2 separate regions of the Homo sapiens genome follow, and region 2 is linked to region 1. The links are contacts of gene promoters, found by promoter capture Hi-C in blood cells and fetal thymus (Javierre and others, 2016). All regions are on one chromosome and are shown on one strand. Each heading gives the region's core, a stretch centred on a gene start or on the middle of the fragment in contact. The rest is flanking DNA. Distances are from core to core; before and after follow the strand shown.

Region 1 (3,360 bases), core at 726-3,225:
GGGAGGCGGAGGTTGCAGTGAGCCAAGATGGCGCCATTGCACTCCAGCCTGGGCAACAAGAGCGAAACTCTGTCTCAAAAAAAAAAAAAAAAAAAAATAGAAAGAAAGGTTTTCCTCCTCAGAGCACTCCCTCAATAAACCATGTGTACAAGTATCCCCATCTCAGGCTCTACTTTTAGAAATTATGACCCATTGATATAGTCTGAATATTTGTCCAAATCTCAAGTTGAAATCTCAAATCCCAATGTTGGAGGTAGGGCCTGATGGGAGGTGTTTGGGTCATGGGGGTGGATATTTCATGGCTTGGTGCTGTCCTTGAAATAGTGAGTGAGTTCTCTCAAGATCTGGTTGTTTAAGTGTGTGGCAACTCCCCTAACCACCACTCTCTCCCTTGCTCTTCACCCTTTGCCTTCTGCCATGATTGGAAGTTTCCTGAGGTCTCCCCAAAAGCAGATGCTGGTACCCTACTTCCTGTACAGCCTGCAAAACTGCAAGCCAATTAAGCCTCTTTTCTTATAAATTACCCAGTCTCAGGTATTTCTTCATAGCAACGCAAGAATGGCCTAATACACCCACCATCTGGTGCAGTGCCTGGCACATAGGAAGCACTTAAATAAATGATTGTTGAATACAAAATAAACTCTGAGAAAATCACAGACAGAACTCTCCTATACATGCATACAGAGCACCTGGTGCATAGTAAATCTTTAAGGAGCTTTAGACTCTCCGATCCCCCCATGCCCTGCAATATGGAGTAGCCTCATCTTGGTGGACTCATCAGGACATGCTCCCCAGGTCTGTATGTCCAGGAATGCAATTGTGTGGATGCATCCAGGATTGATCAGGCTCAGGGAATTGCCAATCTTAAACCTTAATGTTCCTTTACAAGCACAATTGGAACTTAATGCCAAAAAAAAAAAAATTCTGGGATCTTCTGTTATACCCTATCCCATTACGGACAAATCTACTCGTAAAACCCAGCTGCTGGATAAGCAAGAACAGCCAGACCAAGGGCGATCAGTGCATGGTCATTAGGGCTGGTGACCCTCGTCTCTGGGCAAGGCCTGCTGGAGGTGGATATGCAGCCTGATTCTTGTTCTGTCTCCTCCTCTCCTAGGGGCTGTATGGCCACTGTCTCCCATTTTGCCACCCCTACCAGTTTTCCTTCAAAGTATGATATGTGGGCAAAGATTAAGTTCTCTTAATTATGACACATTTCCGCTCTTGCCTCTCAAGTCACTAAACTGAGATGTGCTGGACCCCTATGGCCACCACCCATTTACAGATGATCAGTGTAATCTGATATACTGATAATCCAAGTGACTAAGCCCTTCATTATATGTTCATTTTCCTTAACTCCATTCTCAGACTGTAACCTTAACCTCTAATAAGGGGGTTACTAGGTCATAGTCCTCTTAAGTTCATGTCCTCTACCTCATTACTGGAACCCCAGTATGCATAACACCCCCTATAAACTGTAGTGCTTAGAATACCTGAACAGCCCCCTCCTCTCTCACCCCCATTTAGCAGGTTATGCGGAAGCCCAGCCCCAGAAGCCTCAGGCAGTCCCCTGGCAGAGCCCATCTCTGCAATCTGGAACTTCAGGCCTGAAAAATCCCCTAGAAGGACCCACAGGGAAGACAGCTGGGGACAGAGATATTGAATGACTTCGCCCTGGACCTGCAGCTCTGCAAACTCACAGGAAGAAGAAAGCAGACCTCGCTCCCTTGGACAGATGCCCAAGTAGTAATGGGGTTAGAATGCCTTCCTGACAACTCAGATCCCCAAGGGAGGGCCCTAGGGCAGAGAATCAGCAAAGGCAAGAGGATGAGTCTTAGTTCTCAGAAATCCCTGACTTCCCAGCTAAGCCCCACCTAGGCCACCAGCTGCTTATGAGGTCAGAGCAGCAGCAGCAGCAGCCCCCTCCCTACCCCACGGCCCCACGTGGTAACAGGTCACAATGCCCCGGGTGCCCACTCCCAGAATGCTGACCAAAGTGGGAGGAGGTGAGGAGGGTTTGCTGGGTGGGTATGGGGGAGGGGGAGACTCTGCAGGAGCCTAATTCCCCACTCTGAGCTCACCCTTCTGTCTGCCCGGGCCCTACCCCTTCCCCTACTCTCACCCTTATAATCCTTTTCAGCACTAGGTCTTCCCGTCACCTCCACCTCTCTCCATGACCCGGCTCTGCTTACCCAGACCCGAAGCACGTGAGGATCCGATCCCAGTTCCTCCAAGGGGCCTGGGTGCTGGGGAGGGGTCAGGTAGTCCAGTGCGTCCACCTGTATCCACCTGGGGCCCTAGCTGGGCCCAGCTCCTGGACAGTGTCCTATGGCTGGGGGCACTAGGACTGACAATCCAGGCAGTCTTTTCCACCACTGGCCCAGCCCTGCTGCTGCTTCTGGTCAGCTTCCTCACCTTTGACCTGCTCCATAGGTAAGTGGGCAGCAGCCTGGCAGGTGGGCATTGTAGGCGGGCGGGCCAGTGGACAACTTCCCTAAGCCCAGTCACCACCCTCTCTCTCCACAGGCCCGCAGGTCACACTCTGCCACAGCGCAAACTTCTCACCAGGGGCCAGAGTCAGGGGGCCGGTGAAGGTCCTGGACAGCAGGAGGCTCTACTCCTGCAAATGGGTACAGTCTCAGGACAACTTAGCCTCCAGGACGCACTGCTGCTGCTGCTCATGGGGCTGGGCCCGCTCCTGAGAGCCTGTGGCATGCCCTTGACCCTGCTTGGCCTGGCTTTCTGCCTCCATCCTTGGGCCTGAGAGCCCCTCCCCACAACTCAGTGTCCTTCAAATATACAATGACCACCCTTCTTCATCAGGCCCCCTTTTCTCCTTCCTGGCTGGGCAGGTGGGATGATACCCCTTTCTTCCCAGCCTGAACCTCACAGTCCTATAATATAGGTATCAGATACCTGGATCTGAGTCTTTGGGCAGCAAGAGAAGGTAGGATACTAGCCAGGGAGCCCAAGGAAGAATGTGGCAGCCACCTCAGAGCCTGTGGATTGGGGGCAGCCACTCTGGCCTCCTCTGTGGCTCTAGAGAATGAAGGTCCAGACAGAAAGACTTGCGAGAGAGCAGTTTGGAAAGGGGTGGATATCAGCCAGCAGGGAAAGCAGGAAAGGGACAGGGATCCAGGGAGGGCTTCCCATGAGAAAGCATGAGAAACTACATCTGCGGGGCTCCGAGGCTCCCCTGCCAGCCTGGAGGGTCCGTGCAGAGGGACTTGGGTGGGCCTCACACCCTACAGTGACTCCTCTCTTGGCTGGACCCCACCCCAGCCCGGGTCACAAAGGGGCTCCTCTGGGGAGGGTGGGGGTAGATGAGAGTGGGGACTTGGATCTGCCTGCCAGGCCGTC
Region 2 (3,171 bases), core at 490-2,989, 180 kb after region 1:
ATTCACATGGAACATAAATATTTTCTTTCTTGTGCTAGTTATCCACTACCCAGCGATTGGTTTAGATCCTGACTTCCAGTGAGATAAGTGGTGTGATAATTTGCTTGAAGTTCTCTTCACTAGGAGAATTTCTCTTTTATACACATTCAAAGCCATCACTTAAGTAGTATACCCCATAGCAGTCTACTTCCAGCCCAGCATGGGCCAGCATGTTTCACCAAGCAGTTTATATACCAGGCCGGACTTTTTCTTCTTCAGTTAACTGTTGATGTCAATAGGAAGTCAGAAGTATCTATTGCGGCAGTGGGTTGTGTGGTAGGCATTTTATAGAGATCACTTCCAGCTGATAATGGGATTCTGCTGGGCATGTCCAAATCTATGGCTAATTGAATCTCATAATACCTAGTTTACGAGACCGGCCCGGTGGCTCATGCCTGTAATCCCTGCACTTTGAGAGGCTGAGTTGGACAGATCACCTGAGGTCAGAAGTTCAAGACCAGCCTGGCCAACATGGTGAAACCCCGTCTCTACTAAAAATACAAAAATTAGCCAGGCATGGTGGCAAATGCCTGTAATCCCAGCTACTCGGGAGGTTGAGGCAGGAGAATCGCTTGAACCCGGGAGGCAGAGGTTGCATTGAGCCGAGACCACGCCATTGCACTGTAGCCTGGGCGACAAGAGCGAAACTCCATCTCAAAAAAACAAAACAAACAAAAAAACCCCTAGTTTACGATGGGGAGTTGAAGTCATTTGGATACCTGTCTGTGATCAGGCTTGCAGTCTCTACCCTAGAGCCCAGTACTAGGCTAGGAGCATGGTCTTACCAATAGGATCATGGTCTTATATCCATATCCAAATATTACGATTCTTCTGTTTACCTTACTACAAACACTCTAGAGCTCCATACAATCTACCAGAGCTTATTTCTCTGTGGCCTGGATCAGCAGGAGCACTTTCTCTTTTCAGATCACTCAATAAATTGGTCAGAGGCTGGGCACAGTGGCTCATGCCTTTAATCCTCGCACTTTGGGAGATGAGGCAGGCAGATTGCTTTGAGTCCAGGAGCTCAAGACCAGCCTGGGCAACATGGCGAAAGCCTGCCTCTTCAAAAAATTAGCTGGGCATGGTGGTATGCACCCGTAGTTCCAGCTACTGGGGAGGCTGAGGTGGGGTATTGCTTGAGCCTAGGAGTTTGAGGCTGCAGTGAGCTGTGATTGCACCACTGCACTGCAGCCTGTGTGACAGAGCAAGATCTTGTCTCTATGTAGGTAGGTAGGTAGATTGATTGATTGATCAGATGGATTAGATGGATTAAATTGAGAGATCAGAGTTGGATGCAAGGATAAGGTATCTGCTGTCTCCAAAACTCAAAATGGCCCAGCAAGCATTGCTCCTCTTTGTTAGCAGGAGAGGGGTGGTGGGGCAAGGGGCAACAAGTTGTCTTTTATGTTGGAGGAGATACCCTGACGTGCTGCAGGCCTTTGACTTTCAGAAAATTTGGCTGAGGTGGCAGGCCACTGTATTTTTATGTCTGACATGTACATCTAAGATACATAACTTCCTGCTTTTCATGTCTCACATTGATGTCATTAGCATAGTTGTCAAGGTAATGTCCTGTGAAACAGACAAAATCTTGATGAACCAGATCACAACACAGAAAGGTCAAGATGATTTATCACTGAGGCTGCTCTTGCCATGAGCAAGAAAAACTGCTTCAAGTAGTCCACACAACTTAAAAAGAACACACACTTACCCCTAGCAGTAGTCTAGGTACCAGGAGTTATATGTTAATCTGCAGAAAGTAGAGTACGTCTGGAAAAGTAACTGCAAATCTGCAAAGTCTTCTGTAGCACTTAAGATCCTGCGGTTCACATGGAGACTTCGCCTTTTGCTAAAGAGATCACTGCTCTAGGAGCTTACATTTGCTCTTTCTGTGATGGTTCTTATCCAGTGGGCTAGGGAATCTGTGTGTCTTTGGGCATTACCTAATGGCCAATGTTATTGAAAATCAAGGTGGCACAGAGGGAGGTCTAGCCAACTTCACAGAGCCGGGAGCATCTAGTTTCTTTCCCTCCCTTTTGGAGGCCCTGACAGACAGGCAGGCAGGCAGACAGACAGATCGACAGACAGGTAAGATAGATTAGATAGATTAATAGGTCCTAATGTGAAGCCACCTCAGGCCAAAATTCCTTCCATCAGCTGGCCTGCAAAGGCTCCGTTCTAACTAGCATATCTTAGCGACATTCTGAGTTCCTAGCAAGTAGCTACCTCAAGGCCAGGACCTAGCAGACCCCAAAAGATGCATTTCCCTTTACCTAGTACAGTTGCCATGGCAAATATCTGCAGATTATTAAGAAAAGATGAGGAGGGAGGTTTATAATATATGTGTGTTAATGCGCTGTGGCAGGGTTCCTCCTTACAGATGCCTGGCCTCCCTGTTATTGAAGGGTTCTGGGTCTGAAATGACCCAGGCCTACGAGTTGGATGAGGGGGCCCCCTCTCTAGCATGGTGGTCTAGTAGGCTGCCTAAACTGACCTGGAAAGCTACTTTCCGTTTCCATTACTGGGAGCTTCACAATGAATTATTCACAGCCATAAACGTCTGATCATGGTCTCCAACAGTCTTTCTAGCCCACTTAGATCAGGAATCCCATTTTGAAATAGTCCCTTCCACTAGCATCTCACGCTGCTGAGGACAGCCAGGAAAGCACTTCTGAAAGATTCCAGTGCTTTCCTCACCAGTGTATAGCCTCAGCAAGGCATGTGATGTGGATCCCATCAAGGGCATACTGAAGGTGTCAGTAGAAGGCTGAGCCTTTAGAGTCCATATGCCACTCTGGTCTCCTCTACTTTGTGCCCAGGTTTTTCTGGCTTTTCATTATCACCTCACTAAATCCAGCATTCAGTCCAGGTTTCCACTGGCGAGCCTAGCTCAACATTAAAACCATGGCCAGTTACCTGAGCTGTTACACTACCTGCAGAAGTTCTTTTGACCATACCATAATTAGAAATTTGGCTTTATCCAGGCTGGGCACAATGGCTCATGCCTGTAATCCCAGAACTTTGGGAGGCTGAGGCAGGCAGATCACTTGAGGTCAGGAGTTTGAGACCAGCCTGACCAACATGCTGAAACCCTGTCTCTACTAAAAATACAAAAATTAGCCGGGCATG

The links. The method cuts DNA at HindIII sites, captures the fragments that hold promoters and counts their contacts. A CHiCAGO score of 5 or more calls a contact.
Region 2: a contact is called between a fragment that was not itself captured here and the fragment with the promoter of C20orf141 in region 1, in 2 of 17 cell types (fetal thymus and naive CD8 T cells). The highest score is 5.4, in fetal thymus.

What each region holds. Positions count from the first base shown.
Region 1 is chr20:2,813,012-2,816,371 of GRCh38, forward strand. It overlaps C20orf141 (chromosome 20 open reading frame 141), which reads left to right and starts at 1,976. Exons shown (of 3, transcript NM_001256538.2): 1 at 1,976-2,006; 2 at 2,141-2,433; 3 at 2,527-2,819. The coding sequence starts at 2,174. The coding sequence ends at 2,764. It overlaps TMEM239 (transmembrane protein 239), which reads left to right and starts at 3,353. Exons shown (of 2, transcript NM_001167670.3): 1 at 3,353-3,360. The HindIII fragment of the contact is 5,792 bases long and covers 1-3,360 here.
Region 2 is chr20:2,991,823-2,994,993 of GRCh38, forward strand. The region is part of intron 9 of PTPRA (protein tyrosine phosphatase receptor type A); the gene reads left to right. Among named protein-coding and RNA genes, the nearest start is that of GNRH2, 50 kb to the right of the region's middle. The HindIII fragment of the contact is 6,476 bases long and covers 1-3,171 here.